5 separate regions of the Homo sapiens genome follow, and regions 1, 2, 3 and 5 are each linked to region 4. The links are contacts of gene promoters, found by promoter capture Hi-C in blood cells and fetal thymus (Javierre and others, 2016). All regions are on one chromosome and are shown on one strand. The core of a region is centred on a gene start or on the middle of the fragment in contact, and the rest is flanking DNA. Distances in the headings are between cores, read along the strand shown. Region 1 overlaps REEP3 (receptor accessory protein 3). Region 2 has its middle 120 kb from the start of REEP3. Region 3 overlaps JMJD1C (jumonji domain containing 1C). Region 4 holds the start of JMJD1C-AS1 (JMJD1C antisense RNA 1). Region 5 overlaps JMJD1C (jumonji domain containing 1C).

Region 1 (4,851 bases), core at 597-3,096, 150 kb after region 4:
CCTCCCAGGTTCAAGCAATTCTCTGCCTCAGCCTCCCGAGTAGCTGGGATTACAGGCACGTGCCACCACACCCAGCTAAGTTTTGTATTTTTAAGTAGAGATGGGGTTTTGCCATATTGGCCAGGCTGGTCTCAAACTACTGGCCTCATGTCATTCACCCACTCAGCCTCCCAAAGTGCTGGGATTACAGGCATGAGCCACCACACCCAGCCTAAACTTGTGGATTTCATTTCCCAATAAATTCTAAATTTGGCTCCTTGCTCTGTCCTCACTCTCTGTGGACTCTGTCATTTCTGACCTGCTATACTACAGTAACCTCCCCACTTACGCTCCCTTCCCTCAGCCTTATCCATTTCTGATTCATTTTCCAAAGCGCAAGAAGAATATTTTACAAAACCCAACTCTAATCATGTTACTCTTCTGCTTAAAACATTTCAATACTCTCCCCGAGCCTCCAGAGGCTTCATTGCTCTCTGACGAAGTCCAAACTAGATAGCATGGTGTATTAACTCCCCAGCCTTGTTCTCCCACTCCATCAAGTGCTAGCCATACAGAATCATGACTCTTTGAGGATTTAGCTTAGCCACCACCTCCTACAAGGCCTTCTCTCATAACCCACCCTTTCCAACCCACCCCATGCTGATTACATTCTCTTACTGTATGCCCTCTGGCACCTTGTCATTAGCTTATAGTATTTATTACAGTATCATAATGCCCATTACCGTCTGTTTCCCCTATTGGACTCTAAATTTTTTGAGGGTAGAAAAAGACAGCTGTGTCTTTTTCATCCTTGTATCCTCATAATTCAGCACACTGCCTCATTCATAATAGAATTTTAAAAATACTTGTGGAGTAATGAATCAATCCATCACTTTTCCTGAAGCTATAATTAGATAGCTAATAAGATTTTTTTTAGCTGGAATTAGGAAAAAAGAAAAGAATAAGATGTATAATCAGCTTTTGAATGAAATTCCAATTCCTAATCATACAAAATGAGAGGCAGTTAAAATAGCAAGGACTGGGTTTGTTGAACTGTGCTCTTATGCTACATTTGTGGCCTTAGAGAAATTGTTTATCACAGTTACTTCCTTTCTGACTTTTTCCTTGATTCCTCATTCTGTTTTACCATATTAGGATCAGGAATACTATATAAGCAAACATCAATAGGAAAAAAAATCTAGAAATGACAACCTAAACCTGAAGCCTGGTTTATTTTTCTCAATTATAAAATAAACATTTTTTAAAAATAAGAATTTGGCAAGTAAAAAAAGAAAAAATGAAAAAATTTAAAATCACCTGAAAGCTCACTTCCATGAGATATAATCCTTTCATTTATGTTTTTCCTTTGTTTGTTTCTATATGTACATTTTTTTTTTCCACACTTAATATTGCTTCAGGAGCTTTTTTCCAGGACCACTGATCCATCCCCTTCCTTGCCACACTGGCCTCCTTGCAGTTCTTCCAAGCAATCCCCAAGCCCTAGCTACTCTCCTCACTGCCTCTGTGCATGCTGTTTCTTCCACCCGGAACACACACACTTCCTTGGACCACTGCAAGAAAACAAAGGATCTTGGCCTAAATAAGGACTGATTCCACTTCCAAATCTCCTCTGACTTCTAGCCTAGAAGTCTAAGAACATAAAATTATACCTGACTAATATACAATGCAAGTTGCTTATGTTATTATGAGAGTAACAAGCTTATTAACAACTCTTTGTAGTTTGCTTAGTGTTTCTCAAATTATTCGTGTCTTAGAAGAGCAGACCAATAAACATGTATTCAATTTTTTTAATATGTATATTTTTTGAAACAGGCTATAATGCAGTGGCATGATCACAGCTCACTGCAGCCTTGACTTCCCAGGCTCAGGTGATCCTCCTACCTCAGCCTTTGGAGGAGCTGGGACTACAGGTGCACAACACCATACCCGGCTAATTTTTGTATTTTTTGTAGAGAAAAGGTTTTACCATGTTGCCCAGGCTGATCTCAAACTCCTAAGCTTAAGCGAACCACCTGCCTTGACCTCCCAAAGTGCTGGCATTACAGGCATGAGCCACCAAAGCCCACCCCAGTTTTATTTTTTATCAGCATGAGCCACCAAAGCCCACCCCAGTTTTATTTTTTATCACATGCACGGAATCTATCCCGTGCCTTCTCCTAAGCCTGGAAATCCTTCTACTCTTTTTTTTTTTTTTTTTTTTTTTTTTTAAAGAGATGGAGTCTTGCTCTGTCACCCAAGCTGGAGTGCAGTGGTGCAATCTCAGCTCACTGCAACCTCCACCTCCTGGGTTCAAGCGATTCTCCTGCCTCAGCCTCCCAAGTAGCTGGGATTACAGACTCCTGCCACCACGCCCAGCTAATTTCTGTGTTTTTAGTAGAGTCGGGTGTTTCACCATGTTGGCCAGGCTGGTCTCGAACTCCTGACCTCAGGTGATCCGCCCACCTTGGCCTCCCGAAGTGCTGGGATTACAGGTGTGAGCCACTGCGCCTGGCTGTAAGTCCTTCCACTTTCTCCTCACCTGACAATTTAAGTATTTATGCTCCTTATGCTCCTTATTTTTATTAAAGGAGAATTTATAACTTCATGGGGATTTCTTTCCTTCTTCTTTTTTTTTTTTTTTTTTTTTTTTTTGAGATGGAGTCTCGCTCTGTCACCCAGGCTGGAGTGCAGTGGCGCGATCTCAGCTCACTGCAAGCTCCGCCTCCCGGATTCATGCCATTCTCCTGCCCCAGCTTCCCGAGTAGCTGGGACTACAGGCGCCTGCCTCCATGCTTGGCTAATTTTTTTTGTATTTTCAGTAGAGACAGGGTTTCACCATGTTAGCCAGGATGGTCTTGATCTCCTGACCTCATGATCCACCCGCCTGGGCCTCCCAAAGTGCTGGGATTACAGGCGTGAGCCACCATGCCCGGCCTCTTCATGGGGATTTCTAATCTCACCCCTTTCTTTATAACCTACTTAGTACTCTGGTTGTCTGAGACTTGGGCCCCTGTCTTGCTGTCTCCAGCATCCTCAGGCAGTGGTTCTCAAAGTGTGGACCACAGACCATGAGCACAAGCATTACCTGGGAACTTGTCAGAAATGCAGATTCTCAGCCCCACCTCAAATCTGCTGAATCAGAAATTCTGGGGTTGTCAGAACTTGTATTAACAGGTTCTCAAGGTAACTCTGACGTGCTCAAGTTTGAGAACCTCAGCTTCAGGGTTGGAAGAGTTTTCGTCCTTGAGGCCAAGCCTCAAGATGCTCTCAGACTTCCTGACTGTGTGGATGTTTGCATATTGGCCCGTAGTAAGTCTTTATAGCTACACATAACAGCCTTCTAGCATACTCGCGTGATCTCTCACTGATCTGCCTGATTCTATTTTCTTTGACTAGTATCTGTCACACAGTCTGTGGTACTTCTAATTACTGCAGCCTACCTGGCTGGGTTTTATCTCAGCAACTGCAATAGCAGCTAACATCCCCATCCTCATCACCTGCCCCCAGTGACCTTATTTTGCCCAAAGTTCTAGCCCCCTGGGGTCTTCCTCAATGCCTTAAGTAAACCCTACCATTCCCAGTCTTGACAAAAGATACGACACATAGAACGGAAAAGCCTTAATTCCTAATTCAAGGCAAAAGTGCAAATGACAGACTAAAACACAAATGCTTGGGTTGAATTCATGAAGAGGAGGAAAGGTGGGAAGAGACTTTTTGCTCTATATCTATTTATATTCTTGAATTTTTTAACAAGATGGTGTGTTACCTACTCAAAAATAAATTATTTTATAATTATTTTTAAAAATGCATAGTAAAAATAAGAATGATCAGGGAAAATTTCCTGGAGGAAATGAGTTATGAGTTTCACCTGGAATAGTGCGAGGCAAAGCTTAATGATAAAGGGCATGGAGCACATTCCAGATGCAAAAAGAGTAACTGGGGGAAATGCAAACCATACAAAGAACTGTACACAGATGGGTCAAAGAGCCGGCGCTGACTGGTGTCCTTTTACCAAAACATGCTGTTTTTGACAACTTGTTTAGGTTATGGAATTCCACTGAAAGACGGAGATGAGAAAACAGATGAAGAAGCAGAGGGGCCATATTCAGATAATGAGATGTTAACACACAAAGGGCTTCGAAGATCGCAAAGCATGAAATCTGTGAAAACCACCAAAGGCCGCAAAGAGGTTGGTTAAGTGTAGAGCTGTTTTCCTAATGATTAGTGAAGGATTTCCCTGCTGTGTTATCATTTAGGATATTAATGATCCATAAATGAAGGATTGGAATGGTAGAACAGCAGTTTGATTTTTTTTTTTTTTTTTTTTTTTTTTAGTTTTTGGGGATAGAGCTTTTTTGCTTTGTCAACCAAATTGGAGTGCAGTGTGGCGTAATCACAGTTCACTCAAACTCCTGGGCTCAAGCAGTCCTCCCACCTCAATCTCCCAAGTAGCTGGAACTACAGGCACATGCCACCGCACCTGGCTAATTTTTTCATTTTTTGTAGAGACAGGGTTTCACCATGTTGCCCAGGCTGGTCTTGAACACCTGGCCTCAAGCAATCCTCTCGCCTCCGCCTCTCGAAGTGCTGGGATTCCAGGCGTGAGCCACCTCACCTGGCCAGCAGTTTATATTTAAAATTCTTTATTCAGATCAATGTATCAGGATATCAGGAAATTTTGAAAATGGTAAACTCTTAATCTTCTGCTATACGTAGAAAATGGCATTCTCATTTAGCAAATCACATAGTTCAAATACCCAGTCCCAGCCCTATGCATAAACAAAGAAAGCAATGAATAAAATTAACCACACAGTTTTGCTTTCAACTAATGCTACATGAAGATTAAATAGTAAACAGTTAACCATAATAACA
Region 2 (5,021 bases), core at 223-2,722, 170 kb after region 4:
GCACCGTAGCCGTAGCCGTTCCCTAACCAATTGCCCTACTTTATTCACCTTCACATCTCTTATCAAATATCCTGTTTACCTGTTTACTTGATTATTGTTTGCTTTACCTCTAGAATGCATGTTCTATGAGTGTAGGGACTTGGTCAATCTTGTTCAACAAGGAACTTCCAGTCCAAAACTGTACCTGTCATAGAAAAGGCACCCAATAAATATGCAAATCAAACTACGGTCACTCAGTGACAGAGAAAGAATGAGAACAATTTAAATAGTGTGAGGAAGTGTGTTTACTATTTTGCTCAGTAAATGTATGCACTAGAACAAGTATGAGATGGGAGATGTGAATCTACTTTATCTCTTAGTTCCCCTGTGCTATTCACAGTATGATCAATGTGCCATGCTGGGTGTTTAAAGATGCTGACAGTTTGAACAGCATGGCCCTTACATGCAGAGAAGTTCCGTAATGAGTTTGAGTCCTGGATTCACCACGTTAGTGTCTGACCTTGGGGAAGTTACTTACGCTTTCAATGCCTCAGTTTCTTCATCCATGAAATGAGGCTAATAATAGTACTACCTCTATAGGATTGTTATAAGGATTAAATTAATAATATAAATATCTTAGAACAGTGCCTAGAACATAGTAAGCCATGTCTGAGTATTTTTAAAGCAAACCTATTTGGCTGTACTTGGTTCTCCCCTTTCTTGGGGACTTTATAACTTGAGTACTTATAAGATACTACTCTGCCCAGCACTTTGGGAGGCCGAGGTGGGTGGATCACGAGGTCAGGAGATTCAGACCATCCTGGCTAAAATGATGAAACCCCGTCTCTACTAAAACTACAAAAAAATTAGCCAGGTGTGGTGGCGGGCGCCTGTAGTCCCAGCTACTCGGGAGGCTGAGGCAGGAGAATGGCGTGAACCCAGGAGGCGGAGCTTGCAGTGAGCCAAGATCGCGCCACTGCACTCCAGCCTGGGCGATAGAGCGTGACTCCATCTAAAAAAAAAAAAGATGCTACTCTGAAGTGACTGGCATTGGAATTTTCATCATGCTTTTAGACCAGTAATTTTAGTTTTAGCACCAAGTACAATAATTATTTTATAACCATTGCTAGTCTAGCATTTTTGCTTAGCCATAAATTCCATTTAAGCCAAAATATCCCTAACTTTGCAAAAAACTGTACCTTCAGGGGACACCACCCAATTATAGTTGAAAAAAAGATGTTTCTTCCTTTTTAATTCTGTAGGCTTTTCTTGGCTGGCATTTCCATAACATAATATTGTTATTTGGTAGTTGAGTGTCAGTCAGCTCTACAGAAAAATAAATACCAGTGATCTTGCTAAACCTGTGTACCAAATCATTCCTGAACTAGGGGAGTGGGCCAGATAACCTTTGGAAGGCTTTTTAGCTCTGTTTTTCTGTGGTTTTCGTAAAATGAAAATAGCTCAGAAATTAGAGGTTCTAGATTTAGCACTATGTGAACTGGGCCGGGATGCTTTGTGAATCATGGACAATTGAAATAGTTTAAACTCAGCTTATTTGGAACAGATTAGGTCCATATTCGGGTTGAACAAGAATGAAACCTGTTTGAACTGTGGACAGGCTGTCAGCACCCTTCTAGGCTCAGCTTTTCACTTCTCTTTCTAGGGCCTTGACTCGTTCATATATAACTGTATGAATGCCTCTTTAGAAAGGACTGCAAACACCTCCAACTAGTGTTTGTGAAACCTCCTTGAGGTATTCTACATATGATTCAATAATAAACACCTTCTGCAGTCTTTACCTTAGTTATGGTCCCATAAGTCATGCATTTATTCATCCAGTAAATATTCCCTGAGGGCTTAATATGTGCTAGGAATTGTGCTAGTACTAGCCACTTAGTTGTCCAAGTTAGAAACTAGGAGTTGGGCCAGGCACAGTAGCTCACGCCTGTAATCCCAGCACTTTGGGAGGCCGAGGTGGGAGGATCACCTGAGGTCAGGAGTTCGAGACCAGCCTGGCCAACATGGTGAAACCCCGTCTCTAGTAAAATTACAAAAATTAGCTGGGTGTGGTGGTACATACCTGTAATCCTAGCTACTCGGGAGGCTGAGGCAGGAGAATCGCTTAAACCTGGGAGGCAGAGGCTGCAGTGAGCCAAGATCGTGCCACTGTACTCCAGCCTGGGCAACAGAGTGACTCCGTCTCAAAAAAAAGAAAAGAAAAAAGAAAAGAAAGAAAAAGAAACCTAGGCGTCGTCTTAAATATACCCCCCTCATTCACTCCCCACATTAGGTCAGCCACCAAACTGGTGCCAATACTACCTTCCAAATATCTCTTGAAGTTTTGTTCTCCTCTTCACTCGCTCCTGGTGCCACTATGTTGGTAAAAGTGGTGTAAGCCCAGCTACTGTAGAAAGCAGGGCACAAAGCAGTCTGCTAAGGAGGGGGAAGAGGAGGGGAAGATGGGACACAGTGAGATGCACTGTTATACTGTTTACTGTTGTGCAGTCATACAACAGGTCACTCAGCAGGCATGGGACGTCCCTGGAAGGGTTAACAAGGAAGAACTCCATCTTGGACTATTCCACATGAGAAAAAAGAGTGAGTGTGTCTTCCTGTCTCTCTCCTGGATCCATTTGCCATTGGTGAAGGTTTACCCCATGGAGAGATAAACACCCCTGAATTGGATTGTGTCATCTGGCCGCTTGGCGGCTCTCAGGAAGGCAGATCCCAAGCTCAAGGTGTGGTACTTGTTCCAACTTCAAAAGTAAAGCAACAGGCACTCTGGAGATCTCAGAAAGTACACAAGGTTTGTTTCTCAATATAAACGAAGACCTCAGAGTTTTTTCCTTCAGATTCTTGCAAACGCCTACTAAGAGGACTTTGTACCTCTCACTTACTCCCTTCTAATCCATTCTTTACACTGCACCTACGGTGATCTTTGCCAGACTCAAATCTTTCACTAGCTCTCCTTAAACTCCAGGATACACTCTAAGATCTCTCCTTGCCTGCTTTCCAGTCCTCTTATTAAAGAGAAGTTTTACCAATTGAATCAGATGGTCATTCCTCTCAAGTTCTTTGTTAGCATTTATTGGTTTCTTTTTATTTTTATTTTTGATACAGAGTCTTGCTGTGTCACCCAGGCTGGAGTGCAGTGGCACAATTTCAGCTCACTGCAACTTCTGCCTCCCGGGTTCAAGTGATTATTGTGCCTCAGCCTCCCAAGTAGCTGGTATTACAGGCACACACCACCACACCCGGCTAATTTTTGTATTTTTAGTGGAGATGGGGTTTCGCCATGTTGGCCAGGCTGGTCTTGAACTCCTGACCTCAGGTGATCCTCCCACCTCAACCTCCCATAGTGCTGGGATTATAGGCGTGAGCCACTGCACCCAGCCTATTGGTTTATTATTCAAAAGTAATATACTTACTATAGGAAATTTGGAAAATACAGAAAATATGAAAAAGGAAATAAAAATCACTTTCCTTGAGGAAAAAACTTCTATTAACATTTTGGAATATATCCTGGCCATATTTTTTCTATGAACATATGTACATGTTTTTGAAATCTCAGAGGCATATCTTAAATAAAAATTGTACTTTAACAGTTACTACACTGAAGTTAATACTCAACCAAAAGTGTGTCAAGACCACCCAAATGGTTCAATTTGATAAATGCACTTTACAATAATTTTTTTATTTTTTAATTTTATTTCTTTTCTACTTAAGCATGAAAAAAGGTATGTTTACATTTCAGAAATATAACACATTAAGAAGCCCTCTATAAACATAACCCTTTCCCAATATATTTTACTGCTTTGTTTTAAATACAATTACCTAATAATAAATAAACTTAGATAACAATCTAAAAATCGTAATTGCAACTGTTAACATTTGCTTTGTTATATTGGAAGAGAAAATTTAAAGTTATAATAAACTGTTTGCTACATCATAGCCTAAAACTAGACAAAATTTGTCCTATATTAATTGAGCTTAACAAAAATTGTTTATTTTGTGATTCTATAAATACCAATATAATATTTTTACTCTATTATAAGTAAATTGATGTATTAGCATCACAAATTACTGTTTTCTCCCAGTCAGCCTATGAAATATGAACTTTCCATGGTAGTTGATAAAAATACTGTGTTTAAAAAAAAAAAATCACACGGTCAAGACTAGAATTTGAAAACAATAGCAGGAGCTGATATTTAAAATCACCAAGACCTATTAAAACGACAACAGCATATTTAAACAAAAAAATTAAGCTACTAAATAATGAATGCTTGTATAGTCATAATGAAATTAGAGTAAATCTATATTAATATCATGAAAACACATCAAGTTTCTATTAGAGGAACAGAATCAACACTATCCTAACTTTTCTAAGAATTATTTTGAATATAAAACTTTTAGAGCCAGGCGCGGTGGCTCACGCCTGTAATCCCAGCACTTTTGGGAGGCTGAGGCGGGCGGATCACGAGGTCAGGAGATCGAGACCATCCTGGCTAACACAGTGAAACCCCGTCTCTACTAAAAATACAAAAAAAATTAGCTGGGCGTGATGGTGGGCGCCTGTAGTTCCAGCTACTCGGGAGGCTGAGGCAGGAGAATGGTGTGAACCCGGAAGGCGGAGTTTGCAGTGAGCCGAGATGGCGCCACTGCACTCCAGACTGGGCGAGAGTGAGACTCCGTCTCAAAAAAAAAAAAAAACTTTTAGGGTACAAATGGCGTCATACAAAAAAGACAGTTACGACTCTGATATTGGGACATTAACTTTTTAATAACTGGAAACCCTTGAGAAAATATTAACACATTTATAAATCAAAGACATCTCTTGTGATTTATTACAGAACCACTTAAGGTTCATTAGATAAGCACTCGTTATTTTGTTAATATTAATACAATTAGAAAATATTTGCTGTTGGTCATGTTTTATTTTATACATTATATTATTCTCTTAGGCCTTCAATTAAAGATAATCATAGAAAGCAAAGCATAACATTCTTAATGAAAATACTAAAATTCCAATTATATTCAAATTG
Region 3 (4,783 bases), core at 1,814-4,313, 190 kb before region 4:
AACTTGTGTATCACAGTTTCAAACCTTCAATAGTCTATGATTTCTACAAGGATTTCTAGTAGATATGGACCTTAAGACTTTTTTAACTCTCCTATCTCCAGCAAACATTGTAGCACATTCATTCAATCAATAGGTATAAAATGGCTTCTATGTGCAAGGCACCATGCTTTGGGCCAGGGTATGCAATAGTGAGGAAAAGACAACCAAATTTTTACCCTAGCAGAGTATTCAGTCTTTTATAAGAGAACGGAATACAGTAATCATACAAATCAAGCAGCAATCATACAAGCAGACATAGTGGCATGCCCCTGGAATCCCAGCTACTTAGAAAGTGAGCTGAGAGGATGGCTTGAGCCCAGGGAGTAGGAGACCAGCCTGGGCAACATTGCAAGATGCTGTCTCTAAAAATATAGGTATTTTTAAAAAAGAAATACAAAATTTAGTCCTATTACTTTAATGTTAGAAATACTCTCATTTTTACAGATAAAAAAATGGACACTCGAGTCTAAGTGACTTTGTTTGTCAAAAATCTTGTTTATAGAAGTGCTAGGACCAGAACTTGGATTTCCTAATTCACAGCTGAATGATTTTTACATCATAAGATGGTGTGAAAGCATTGTATTTATTTTCATGCTGGTTGGCATGGGTGGCAGAGAGCAAAGTGTTTTGCCATCTGCTGAATTAAACTTTAAACTTTGAACGCTGAATGGAGAAAAATGAAGCCTGTCTAGAAGAAACTGCAAAGTCACAAAGTACAAAGGAAAAGAAGTATGACATAAGTTTATGTATTTTTAATTTGCTTTACTGACATACGTCACCTTTCACAAAGGAGAAATAAGCAGGATTAGGAGGAAAAATCAATTCAACATAAAGGGTTTTTAAAGCTATGTTCAGAAAAAGACCATTGGGAAAGATGATAAAACACCAATATTTGGAAGAAAGAAAAGCTTATTTAATTACTTTTATTTCTGTCAAGAAAAAGTGATTTTACTATGGAAAATATGAACTAGAGATTAAAAAAAACTAAAGATTAAATGATATGTAGAGGATCCTTTTTGTTTCCAAAAATAGTTTTCTTAACAAGTAACATAATTATATTTGAGAAAATTTGTAAAATAAATGCATGAAAAAGATCCCATATTCTTATCCTTAGTGAACCCAGCCAGTTAACTATTTAAGTGCACTTTCAGCCCTTTTTTTCCTCACAACCATATTAGTTATCAACATTCAGGATACACGCAAATTTTAAGTTGCTCATTTTATTTAATAATCTTCTCATGTTCTTACATTGCCATCATTTTAACGACTTAAAAAACAGGCATGAGTTTATTAAAGCATTAGTTTTATTATTCATTCTCTTAATGTTGAATGCTAAAGCTGCTTGCAATTTTGTATTATAAACAATACTATGAACGTCTTCATGCTTTTAGTAATTAAAAATCATAGATTAAATTATATGTTAGAATACTAAATTGGTAGGTACAAGCTCAGAGCCATTAACTGGTAGTCTTTGAAAAAAATCATGGCATTGCCAAGACATTAGAGATAGGCAGTTGAGGCCGGGCACGGTGGCTCATACCTGTAATCCCAGCACTTTGGGAGGCCGAGGCGGGCAGATCACAAGGTCAGGAGATCGAGACCATCCTGGCTAAAACGGTGAAACCCCGTCTCTACTAAAAATACAAAAAGTTAGCTGGGCGGGGTGGCGGGTGCCTGTAGTCCCAGCTACTCCGGAGGCTGAAGCAGGAGAATGGCGTGAACCTGGGAGGCGGAACTTCCAGTGAGCCGAGACCCCGCCACTGCACTCCAGCCTGGGAGACAGAGTGAGATTCCGTCTCAAAAAAAAAAAAAAAAAAAGACCAGCCTGGCCAACATGGTGAAACCCCAACTCTACTAAAAATACAAAAATCAGCTGGACATGGTGGCAGGTGCCTGTGATCCCAGCTACTCAGGAGGCTGAGGCAGGCATGGGGATTACAGGTGCCCACCACCACTACGCCCCAGCTAATCTTTGTATTTTTAGTAGGGACAGGGATTCGCCATATTGGCCAGGGTGGTCTCCTGACCTCAGGTGATCCACCCTCCTCAACCTCCCAGTGCTGGGATTACAGACTTGAGCCATGGCACCCTACCAGGAAACCAATTTTAATTACGTATGTAATTAACAGTAGTCCCACAAAATATGAGACTCACTGAAGAGTGAGATATTGAAGCTTATACAGCATCTGAAGCTATGGAAGGAATAGAAGCTTGGGGCTTTTTTTTTTTTTTTTTTGAGAGAGAGTCTCGCTCTGTCGCCCAGGCTGGAGTGCAGTGGCAAGATCTCGGCTCATGAACTCTGCCTCCCGGGTTCATGCCATTCTCCTGCCTCAGCCTCCCGAGTAGCTGGGACTACGGGCACCCACCACCACGCCCAGCTAAGTTTTTGTATTTTTAGTAGAGACAGGGTTTCACCGTGTTAGCCAGGATGGTCTCGATCTCCTGACCTCGTGATCCGCCCGCCTCGGCCTCTCAAAGTGCTGGGATTACAGGCATGAGCCACCGTGCCTGGCCAAAATAGTAATCTCTATTTTTTTATTTTTTTTAATCAATGTTGACCAGGTTGGCCTCGAATGTGTAGCCTCGCCTCCCCGAGTGCCAGGGCAACCGGCCTGAGCCACCGAGACTCCCAGAAGCTTGGGGCTTTTAAGGGTTGGTGTCTACACAAGTTATACAAAATGGAGTGAGAGGAGGAAATACATGATGAATAAAGATAGTCTTGTTATGCAGACTAAAGTCTCTCAGGTAATAACAGTTGTCTGCAGCAGCCCTTTCCCTGATACAGGTAACTTTTACTAAAGTAGATCTCCTTTATAGATGGGTAAATTTCTTTTACAAAAGGGCAGCTTTTCAAAATTACTCCTGTGTCTGCAGATTCTCAGAATAACTAGCTCAAAACATGGCAAAAAAAGATATTTTGGGGATGGTATATTCTGGTCTCTTACCAGAATATTTTGGGTGGGGTATCTTGAGCCAACAATGGATAATCAGTATAATGAAAATTTTTAAAAAACAAATTGACCAAGTAAGAGCAAAATATATTCATTGAGAGTAATTTGCATTTCTTTTTTTTTTTTTTTTTTTTTTTTGAGACAGAGTCTTGCTCTGTCTCCCAGGCTGGAGTGCAATCTTGTGATCTTGGCTCACTGAAACCTCTGCCTCTTGGTTCAAAAGATTCTCCTGCCTCAGCCTCCCGAGTAGCTGGGATTACAGGTGTGCGCCACCACGCCTGTCTAACTTTTCTATTTTTAGTAGAGATGGGGTTTCGCCATGTTGGCCAGGCTGGTCTCCAACTACCTCAGGTTATCTGCCCACCTCGACCTCCCAAAGTGCTGGGATTACAGGCATTAGCCACTGTACCCAGCCTGCATTTTAATAAAAACAAAAGTTATTAGGTTAATAAGATTTGAAACTAAGCTTTAAGGAACTTGACTTAAACAAAACTTTTATCAAGACAACCTACAATAGGTAAGTCAATGAAATACAGGCTGGATGATAATTACATATCTGCAGTGGGTTAAAGAGTACTGATTAATAGGCCAGGCACAGTGGCTCACAGCTGTAATCCCAGCACTTTGGGAAGTTGAGGTAGGCAGATCACTTGAGGTTGGGAGTTTGAGACCAGCCTTACCAACATGGTAAAACCCTGTCTCTACTAAAAATACAACAATTAAAAGAGAATAATAATAATAATAATAATAATAATAAAATTAGCCGGGTGTGGTAGCGCATGCCTGTAGTCCCAGCTACTTGGGAGGCTGAGGCAGGAATCGCTTGAACCCAGGAGGCAAAGGCTGCAGTGAGCTGAGATTACGCCACTGCACTCTGGCCTGGGCGACAGACGAGACTCCATCTCCAAAAAAATCAAAAGCAAGCAAACAAACAAACAAACAAAAAAAAGAGTACTGATTAGTAGTACTGTTGCCGAGCGTGTGATCCCAGCACCTTTAGGAGGCCGAAGTCGGGAGTTCAAGACCAGCCTGACCAACATGGAGAAATCCTGTCTCTACTAAAAATACAAAATTAGTCAGGCATGGTGACACATGCCTGTAATCCCAGCTACTTGGGAAGCTGAGGCAGGAGAATCGCTGGAACCCAGGAGGCAGAGGTTGCGGTGAGCTGATATTGTGCCATTGCACTCCAGCCTGGACAACAAGAGCAAAACTCCCATCTCAAAAAAAAAAAAAAAAAATAGTACTGTTATTAACCTGTGATATGTTATTCATTCATTTCTGGTCTTATATACTCATTATCGCTTGAAAGCTATCTCTATTTTCAAATTAACAAATGACAGAATGGCTGGCTACGCACGGTAGCTCACGCCTGTAATCCCAACACTTTGGGAGGCCGAGGCAGCTGGATCACCTGAGGTCAAGAGTTTTAGACTAGCCTGGCCAACATGGTGAAACCTCATCTCTACTAAAAATACAAAAAATTCTCCGGTGTGTTGGCGGGCGCCTGTAATCCCAGCTACTCAGGAGGCTGAGGCAGGAGAATCGCTTGAACCCACGAGGCAGAGGTTGCAGTGAGCTAAGACGGTGCCATTGCACTCCAGCCTGGGCAAAAGAGCAAAAACGTGGTCTCGAAACAAACAAAACAAATTACATAGTGATTTAAAAATATGTCTTATGATAAAAACAATCATGACCTAGATTTTAAAATGATCAAGAAAATCTGGAATTGTATCCATTGAAACAGAAAAAAAATTTTAAAAAGCTAAAATAAGGATTAACCTTAAATTTTA
Region 4 (5,000 bases), core at 661-3,160:
ACTATGCCCGGCTAATTTCTGTATTTTTTGTAGGGACAGGGTTTCGCCATGTTGCCCAGGCTAGTCTCAAAACTCCTGCGCTCAAGTATCTTCCCATCTCAGTCTCCCAAAGTGTTGGGTTTACAGGCGTGAGCCACTGTGCCTAGCCTAATTTCATGTAACTTAAAATCTACTCTGCAGTAATCAAAGTCGAACAGGAATATTACATTATGTTAATGCTAAACTGTTCCAAGTTTCGTTTAAGAAATGTGAATGTAAGAAAATCTGGGAATAAATCTAAAATGGTAGATTCTAGGCTAAAAAAACTAAATTAATATTCAAATTTTCAAATAAAGACAGATTAAAAAAACTCATCAAGGGTTCACATAGGTATGGTTCAACATACATTTTTCTTTTTTTGGTAAAATTTAGATATGGTGAAACGCAAAGATAGTATCAATTCAACGAGTTTTGACAAATATATATATCTGTGTAACCAACAATCAGGATAGGAAACATTTCTATCACCTGAAGAAACTCCTATTCTTTCCAGTCAATCTCTACCATCCATAGATAATTTATTTTTTAATATCCAGCTTAATACCTTACTAACATATGCAAACTTAACTCTTTAATCACTTAAATTCCCAACTAAGAGAGCAATTAAGTTATTTATATATACAAATTTTTTTTTTCCTTTTTTACAGATGAGGGGGTCTCACCTATGTTGCCCAGGCTGGACTCTTAATAAGTCCTGGGCTCTAGCAATCCTCTTACCTCAGCCTTTTACACAAACAAAAATAGTTACTGAATTGAACTGCCATAATTTTTAGAACCACTAACATCACCAATACTTTTTAAGGAAGATTATACATTTCTATACGAAAATAACCAGCCAAAACCTTCAAAACTACCTCTATTTTCTGTTAGAAATACCTATCAGCAAAACACACCTATTTTGCGATATCGAGTCAATATTAATACATGCCGCATTAACCATATCATTGACTACAGTGAGGAAAACCCGAGTTTACAAAAACACACTCAGAAACTATTAAAATAGGTAGGTAAAAAATATTAGGTAGATACCTGTACAAATATTACAATGAATTTGGAATTGTAAGCTTTCATGCACACAAAGGGAAAAAAATTTCCTAAATTTGAAGTTTTCATTGAAAAAGTAAATGGCTCAGGGCATTACAAATAAATTTCACAGATTACGTATTCATAAATCAACCTTTGGAAGTCTAGTCCATGTCTTGTCTCTACTCCGCCCCTTACCTTCAAGCTGTCCCTCAGTGAGAATGTACTTGGAACACAACAGAGCATATTACAGCTCAATATCATGCACATACCTACGCTACTCAAAGAAAGCACTGGCAGCGTCACATGTAAGAAACCAAAAAAAAAAAAAGATAATCAATTCTGCATGGCATTTAACATTTTAATTGACAACATTTTTCGTCTTATTTAAAATCGTATAAAACCCAGAAACAGCTTGACTCCAAAGAACTATACCTTTCTAACAAGAAAAGCACATTGGGGACAGAAAGAGAGATTACCCTCCATACCAAAATTTTTCACTTTTATCCTTTACGGTTAGAAAGCCAAGCATCTATTAAGGAGAGGATGAATCCGGGCACAGCCACCACCACGGCCTCTGCCTCTAAAACACATAGGAATCCCCGGACTGTGTGGGAAGGTCTCTTTTCTTTTCTCCCTCCCCTTCAGCAACCTTACAGGATAAGTTTTAAGTCTCGAGCTACAGCACTATGAAGACTTTTCCAAGAAAAGAGATACCAGGGAAGCTGGCCGCCTGTCGCCATGAGTGGTCCGCCCCCTACCCCCACCTGCCCGCGCGGCGCCGGACTCGCGGCTCCGCCTTTCGGGGAGGTCTCCGTGGCCGCCCAGGCGCCACAGCGGGGAGCCGCGGTCGACCCCTCCGGGATGGGGGCCAGGGCAGCCTCCGCGGCTATCCCGGGAGTCCTGCTCCGACACCACCTCCACAGGGGAAGCCGCTCGGAGAGACGCAGGGACCCAGGCAAGGGATGCGGGCAAACGCGCCAAGGGTTCAGCAGAGGGGCGTGACCGCCAGTTGGCCGGGCTGAGCGAGGCGCCAGAGGGAAGCCTGCAAGGTACGTCTGCGAGAGCCGGGTGCGGGCGCGGCAGGGGAAAAGGGGGGCGCTGACTCTCTTACCGCCAGGTCCGGATTGCGGCTGTCCCTGTGTGACACGGCTCGGATGACCCCCGCTCGCCAGCTTCGCCAGCCGCGTCCGCTCTCCCAGCGCTCCGAACGTGCCTCGTCGCCGACCGCCACACACAGGAACCGCTTACCCACCAGCTCTGCCCGCGTCTCTACCGCCATAGCTGTCGCTGCCGAAGCGGCCGCTGCCTCCTCCAGTGCGAGGGAACCGATGAAACCTCACTCCTACCGGCCGCTCATGCTGAGGAGAGCGGACCGGGACACAGCAGCGGACCCGAAAGAGCGCAGACTCGGGACGAACCGGCCGCTCTGCCCCGGACACAGCGACCTCGGGCCCTCCCCGCAAACACTCCTTTGGACTCCCAGATTCGCAGCCTTGTGCTGCAGCGCCACACAAGAAAACTGAAACAAAACCCAACGCGGCCGTCGAAGACCCCGAGGCAGCCCAGCCGCCGCCACCGCGCCGCGGCCAGTACTGCTCCGTCTCCCTCCCCGGGCAGCGGCGGCGCGCAGCGCGTCTCCTTCCGCCGGCGCGGGCGGGGCAGCAGCCGCGGGAGGGTCGGCGGAACCACCGCAGACGGAAAGTAGTGCCCGGCCCTGCGGAGGCGGCAGCGGCCACTGGGTCCGTCCAGATCCAGAGGCGGCGGCGGCGGCGGCAGCGGGAGACGAAAAAATGAAGAGGGCCGCGGGAAAGTAGGCGACAGCTATTCAAAGCTTTTGGGGGTCTACCTTTGTATTCGTTGCTCCCTCAGAGGTGGAGGTGAGGGGAAAGTGAAGTGTAGTGGTTCCACTCTGATCACAAAATAAACTCCTGGGTTGACGCCTCACCCGCGGTTTGATGTTCAGAGCACACAGCGCCCGCCGCCTGAGTTAGCCTGAATTAGCAGTCCCGCAGTAACAGCAGCAGAGCAGGACAACACTTCTACTGAAAACTAAGCCCCAAAGTCACAGCAGAACCAACCGTTCATGACTTCAAGGGAAAACGAGGGGGAAAATGTGATCCTTTCATTCTTCTCATTTGTGGTGATACTAATTACATGTTTAAGCTATTCACAGATTTAAATTCGTCACTGCTTTATTATAAGAACAGCAAATGCTCCGTGGCGGGCCCTTGTCAACGTCCTGAAATTTCACAAACCGTGTCTGCGACAGTCTTAGTACTTTTAGTACTGGTACACAGCTCAAACACACTGGTCAGATAATAAAAGCAGAGAAAATCCCCAGATTCAGTTATTAGAAAATACCATGGAAAGAAAAGGATTTTAGCCAATCACAATTCAAGAAAAAAAATATTTATTTCCCATCCAATTACAATCGGACTCCCTAACCCACACAAAGATCTCTAACTTGGAACAATCACTCTTCTTTGATCAACTTATTTGTTATAAATCAAACCTCCCTACAAATGTCAGTGAGCAGTTCGATTTCAGGCACCCTTTATACTGCTTTTTTATAGGTAGTCCAATATTCTAAATTTCAGTTTCTTGAGATTTTCCTGAACCTCTATTTAAAAAAAAAAAGTTAACAGAGTTTACAGTAGTAATCTGAATGTTTAAAATAACTATAAGGCTTTTATCTGTTTTCTCTAGAACACTCAAGCTGGGCAATTTGAAGTGGAGAAACACAACCACTGCTAATAGGTTAGAAACCAAAATTATAAGGAAGATGGATTTTAATAATCATGGTCAAATTTTGCCAAAGACCAAACATAGAACTGTAATAAATAGGCTGGGCACGGTGCCTCACGCCTGTAATCCCTGCACTTTAGGAGGCAGATCACCTGAGGTCGGGAGTTCGAGACCAGCCTGGCCAACATGATGAAACTAAATGTATTTTTAGTCTCTACTAAAAATACAAAAAATTAGCTGGGCATGGTGGAGCATGCCTGTAATCCCAGCTACTCAGGAGGCAGCAGGAGAATCACTTGAACCTGGGAGCTGGAGGTTGCAGTGAGCCGGGATCGTGCCACTGCACTCCAACCTGGTCAACAAGAGCAAAACTCAGTCCCCCCGAAAACAAACAAACAAACAAAAAACCTGTAATAAATTAAAACAGCAAAACATACCCAAAAATGCATATCGGCAAGTTGAGAGAAAAAATTTTGCTTGGGCAATTTTATTTCCAAGTCCACTTTTTCAGTGTACACTGTATAATACTTAGCAAATTATCTTAAGAATTACAGATGAAGATTTCTAAAATCAGTGTAGATTAAGGAACCAGTAAAGTGACTTGGTGACAATAATTCAACATATGTAAGGATAAAAGAGTAGGGAGATCAACATCCAGATACCAAGTCATCAATGATCTGCTTTGTGACCATGGGCATGATGCAATTGTAAAAATGCAAAAATGCCTGAATCCTAATTTTCAGTGATATCCTAGGAGCAAACGAAAAATACAAATAAAGTCATTTGAGAAAAACATGCAAATTCATCAGTTATTACATAAATCCCACTCACCAAATTACATTCTTAAGAGTATAGGTTGCTAGTTGCCTTATATAAAACTGCCAGCTGTTTTCAATTTTGTAGGCAAACTGCTCTAAATGGGCCCCTGGGAACTCCCACTACATGTTGAATTCCATCCTTTTCAGTCCTCTGAAAAGCATGTAATCCAACAAATCAATCAAAATATTTCATGTATAGAAACAAAGTTTTTCAGGAGGGCATATATCCCCAAAATATTTTTAATCAAGTATCTTAATATTCTTAGAACTCTGGTCCAAATTCTCTTCTACTAATCCCTTGACTACAGCCAATGCCTAGAGTTTACACTAATTTGTGGATATTTTGCTGTTGGAAAAATTTAAAAGTACATT
Region 5 (4,657 bases), core at 698-3,197, 140 kb before region 4:
CGCTTGGATTACAGGCATTAGCCACCATGCCTGACTCAACTAATTGTTATATTTTTAGTAGAGATGGTGTTTCACCATGTTGGCCAGGCTGGTCTTGAACTCCTGGCTTCAAGTGATTCGCCTACCTCAGCTTTCCAAAGTGCTGGGATTACAGGAGTGAACCACCATGCCCAGCATATCTTACATTTTGTATTATGTTTTTGATATTGAGTAATTTTTTCTTTTAGATTTTATTTCATATTATCTTCCTCTAATATTTTTAATACATTTATTAGGATAATTTTATATTCATCATTTGTCTAATCTAGTATTTCTACTACTAATGGCATCTGTAATCCAGTATATTATTTTTCTTTCCTTTGAATGTTTTATTTGGTCTGTGTGCTCATTTTCTTCTAGGAAAATACATTTAAGCAATGTATATAGACGATGTCAGCCCACAATCACTGTCAGCCCCATTGAGCTCAAGACATACAGGTGGAAAATACCTAAGGTGGAATATTCCAGGCAGCAGAAAACTACAATCTCTCATCTTTTCTCAAAACAATTCCTTGGGAAAGTAGCTTCACTATTTTTTCACATGTTAAAGCATCTAAATGGAGACTCTTCTTCGACTATTGTGATAACATGAAATATATATTTGTTTTTTGTCTCCATTTCCTGACATACAGCTTCTAAAATCCTTGTAGATACAGGCACTAGGAGAATCTTTTGTTCTAATATTTGTCCTTTGACTCCTGGTTCCTGACACCGAGCTCCTAAATCCCTAGGAATTTCCTAGGTGACAGAAGACTCTTTTGTTCTAATGAGGCAATCTTGGTGGGCTTCTAGATAGCCCCAGGATGGTGCTTGTTACCAAGGGAACCAACCATGTGTTTAGAGAGTTGGAAAGTTCATAGCCCCACCCCAGACCTCCAGGGAGAGGAGAGGGGCTGAATTGAGTTGATCAACAATGGCCAATTATATAATCAATGATGCCTATGTAATGAAGTCTCCATAAAACCCCCTAAAAATAGAGTTTGAATGAGGTTCCAGACTGGTGTACAAGAACACATCCACGTGCCAGGTGGGTGGCACACACAAACTCCACAGGGATGAAAGTTCCTGTTCTCTGGACCCTTCCAGATCCCATCCCATGTATCTTCATCTGGCTATTCATTTGTATCCTTTAAAATATTCTTTGTAATAAATCGGTAAACATAATAAGTAAAGTGTTTCTCTGACCTTTGTGAATTGCTCTAGCAAACTAATTGAACATGAGAAGGAGCTGGTCTATAGCTGATCAGTGAATTTTATAGCTGCTCAGTCAGAAGTATAGGTGACAACCTACTACTTGCGATTGTCATCTGAAGTGGGAGGCAGTCTTGTGAGATTGAGTCCTCAATCAGTGGGATCTGACGCTAGCTGTAGGTAGACAGCGTGAAAAAATAATTCAGTTGGAGGATATCCAGCTCATGTCTGCTGGAGATCTGCTAGGTGTGTAAGAAAATACCCCAACACATCTGGTGTCAGAAGTGTTGTGTTGAGTCGACAGTGGAAAAAACAATTTGGTTTGGTTTTTCCTGCATCTCTTACCAACTATAGCGTATTAGCACTGAGAACTGTCTGGGTAAGAGGTAGGGAAGCAAAAGTTCATTTTTTAAATCCACTCAGAAGGAAAGGGCCTCTGCACTATCCTGAATTGACTCCTCAAAATATCAAAGGTCTGATACTTTACAAGTGTACGCGAGTTAGGCACCTTTGCTTCAAAGGCGTGAAGAGCTTCAATAGTTCCTTTCCTATTTTTTCTTCTGATAGCCAAGAGGATGCCCTCTCTCTTGACCTGGGACAAAGCTTCTCTATTCCACACACCAGTTCAAAACAGCCTTTCTTCCACCAACCTAGGGGATTTCTCACCATTTGCTCAGAACATTTAGTTTTCCCTTCTAACTGCTGAAGCTGACCTTGGGTGAGGAAGCCAAAAGTCACACTTCTTGAATGTCTTTTAAGGAATCTAAACCAGTTCATTCATTGTAATGATGAAATATCTTCTCATCTGAGTATATTAAGAGGATTTTCCCCCAAAGCTTTCAAAACAGTTCCTTGTATTTTCCTGGCTATTCTTTTTTTCCTACATGTTTATTCTCTCTCATGTTGGGAAAGCTCTTTTCAAATGTTGCACATGCCTTGGTTATCAATTTACATAAAAGAGAAAAGAATATTATTAAAATGAGTGGATGTCAGTTTACTGAGGATCTCACCTAAGGACTCTAAATTTTCAGAATTTTTTTCCTCTGGAAAATTCAGATTTCTACAAAGACAAAATCCCCCTCTAAACTCTTAGTTAAAAGGTATATGCCAACCTGCAGTATATTATGAGCGCAAGAGATGGAAAGTGACTTAGGTGGAAGGGACTCAGTACGATGATTTTAAAGCTGCTAAATTGTAAAATACAAAATGCAAGAAATTAAGATAGAATAGGGTTTAACTTTTTACACTTATTTGAATTGTTAAAAAATTTTCTGGCCAGGCACGGTGGCTCACACCTGTACTCCCAGCACTTTGGGAGGCCGAAGAGGGAGAATCACAAGGTCTGGAGTTCAAGACCAGCCTGACCAACATGGTGAAACCCCGTCTCTACTAAAAATACAAAAATTAGTGGCGCGCTCCTGTAGTCCCAGCTACTAGGGAGGCTGAGGCAGGAGAACTGCTTGAACCTGGAAGGCAGAGGTTGCAGTGAGCCAAGATCGCACCACTGGACTCCAGCCTGGGCAACAGAGTGAGATTCCATCTCAAAAAAAAAAAAAAAAAAAAACTTTTTTTTTTTTCCTAAGTTTGTCAAGGCACAGTTGAGGAAAGAACAGAATCTATATCAAATGTTAATATTAATGTAATTAATATATATTGATGTATATTAACAATTGTTTACGTATCTAGTCATAAATACAGAGGCAGAGCTGGGAAAAGTATTTAATATATATAAAAATTTAACATATACATACATAGATCTATATATGAAAATTAGATAATGTTGAACAAAAAGTAGAGAAGAGAGAAAAGGAAAGAACTGCCGCCTTGGGCAAGACCAAAGCAGCACTGGGTAAGAGTATGCGAGACAGTAAAGTCAACAAAGCTGTAATGACAGCTATGATGGACAGGTAGTGCTAAAGCTGAAACACAAGGAAAAGCCTGTTGGCCACAACAAATTAATTAAGCCTAGAAACAACAGTGGTGCCGGGTACAGTGGCTCACACTTGTAATCCTAACACTTCTGGGAGGCCAAGGCAGACAGATCACTTGAGGTCAGGAGTTTGAGTCCATCCTGGCCAACATGGTGAAATCCCACCTCTACTAAAAATACAAAAACTAGGCTTGGTGGCACGCACCTGGAATCCCAGCAACTCGGGAGGGTGAGGCAGAAGAATCACTTGAACCCAGGAGGCTGAGGTTGCAGTGAGCCAAGATCGCGCCACTGTACTCCACCCTGGGTGACAGAGCAAGACTGTTTCAAAAAAAGAAAGGGGGGAAAGAAACAGCACTGGTATTTTCTGAAGCACAAGTTATAAAACAATGTTATCCATTCAAAAACCAGAAGTCATACTGATAAGAGCACAATAAGGCCAGGTACATAAAACTAAAAAAATTCAAGGCATACTTAGATGTGATATAAAATGAGATGGCTAGTACAATGGCCTGCGGGGGCCATCTTGTGCATTCTCTCAATCTTCAAATGTCTTTGTATTAGAGTTCTCCACAAAAACAGGACCAATAGAGTGTGAGCATATTTGTGTGTGTTTCTCTGTGTGTTTGCATATGTGTGTGTGTATACATATATATATATAGGCTCATTATCTCATATGATTATGAAAGCCAAAATCCCATGATCTGCAGCCCACAAGCTGGAGAAACAGGAAAGCCAGTGGTGTGTCTTGGTTCAAGTCTGAAAAATGAAGAACCAGGAGCACCCACATCTGAAAGCAGGAGACAAGGATGTTCCAGCTCAGAAAGAGCCAATTCATCCTTCGTCTGCCTTTTTTTTTTTTTTTTTCTATGTGGGCCCCCAAAGGATGGACAATATCTGCCCAAATGGATAAGGGTGGTCCTTCCCTACTCAGTCTACTAGCTCAAATGCTAATCTCTTCGGAAACACCCTCACAGACACAGTCAGAAATAATATCTTACCAGGATCTGGGTATCCTGTGGCCCAGTCATGCTTACAACATAAAATGAACCATCACAGTCCTCAACCAACACTATCTCGTATATCCTTAAAACAGAGAAACCAAGGTTCAGAAAAGTTACCTACTGTCACAAAAGTAAGTAAACAGCTAAACCAAAAATCAAACTCGTGTCTATCTAAATCAAGAGATCAAACACAAATGCCAACTAAGATTCTGTGGAGGAGATAATAGTACAAAGTTAGGCCCTTGCTCCAAGAAAGTTCCTGCAGACGGAGATCAGATTTATACACATCAAACAATACAAACCCTGTATTATTCTATATTGACTACAACTTATAAACAAAGAAGCCTAGAGGAAAGAAAGATTCAGAATTAAACAGATTCCTTCATTCAATGAATGCTTCTTAAGAACTTGATATGTGACAAGCACTGGTAACCACAAAGTCAAAGCAGTGTGTTAACAAAACTCCTACCTATAGAGCTCATAATCCTGTGTG

Evidence for each region. Contacts are between HindIII fragments. The CHiCAGO score rates a contact against its expected background, and 5 or more counts as called.
Region 1: a contact is called between a fragment that was not itself captured here and the fragment with the promoter of JMJD1C-AS1 in region 4, in 1 of 17 cell types (erythroblasts). The highest score is 6.0, in erythroblasts.
Region 2: a fragment that was not itself captured here is called in contact with the fragment with the promoter of JMJD1C-AS1 in region 4 in 10 of 17 cell types (M2 macrophages, naive CD8 T cells, M1 macrophages and 7 more); the score reaches 7.4 in M2 macrophages.
Region 3: a contact is called between a fragment that was not itself captured here and the fragment with the promoter of JMJD1C-AS1 in region 4, in 16 of 17 cell types (total CD8 T cells, total B cells, fetal thymus and 13 more). The highest score is 8.9, in total CD8 T cells.
Region 5: a contact is called between a fragment that was not itself captured here and the fragment with the promoter of JMJD1C-AS1 in region 4, in 6 of 17 cell types (M1 macrophages, M0 macrophages, endothelial precursors and 3 more). The highest score is 8.4, in M1 macrophages.

Annotation. Positions count from the first base shown.
Region 1 is chr10:63,615,633-63,620,483 of GRCh38, forward strand. It overlaps REEP3 (receptor accessory protein 3), which reads left to right. Exons shown (of 8, transcript NM_001001330.3): 7 at 4,023-4,168. The region is part of intron 1 of LOC105378329 (a long non-coding RNA gene); the gene reads right to left. Among named protein-coding and RNA genes, the nearest start is that of REEP3, 97 kb to the left of the region's middle. The HindIII fragment of the contact is 300 bases long and covers 1,697-1,996 here.
Region 2 is chr10:63,635,379-63,640,399 of GRCh38, forward strand. No RefSeq gene overlaps it. Among named protein-coding and RNA genes, the nearest start is that of REEP3, 120 kb to the left of the region's middle. RefSeq lists a silencer at 1,691-1,790. The HindIII fragment of the contact is 9,997 bases long and covers 1-5,021 here.
Region 3 is chr10:63,274,628-63,279,410 of GRCh38, forward strand. The region is part of intron 2 of JMJD1C (jumonji domain containing 1C); the gene reads right to left. Among named protein-coding and RNA genes, the nearest start is that of MIR1296, 96 kb to the right of the region's middle. The HindIII fragment of the contact is 781 bases long and covers 2,674-3,454 here.
Region 4 is chr10:63,463,319-63,468,318 of GRCh38, forward strand. It overlaps JMJD1C-AS1 (JMJD1C antisense RNA 1), which reads left to right and starts at 1,911. Exons shown (of 1, transcript NR_027182.1): 1 at 1,911-3,245. JMJD1C (jumonji domain containing 1C) reads right to left here and starts at 2,659. Exons shown (of 26, transcript NM_032776.3): 1 at 2,177-2,659. The coding sequence starts at 2,344. RefSeq lists silencers at 1,772-2,111, 2,652-2,801 and enhancers at 1,891-2,680, 2,302-2,371, 2,452-2,621, 3,072-3,121. The HindIII fragment of the contact is 1,793 bases long and covers 1,102-2,894 here.
Region 5 is chr10:63,320,030-63,324,686 of GRCh38, forward strand. All of the region lies in intron 2 of JMJD1C (jumonji domain containing 1C), which reads right to left. Among named protein-coding and RNA genes, the nearest start is that of MIR1296, 51 kb to the right of the region's middle. The HindIII fragment of the contact is 233 bases long and covers 1,832-2,064 here.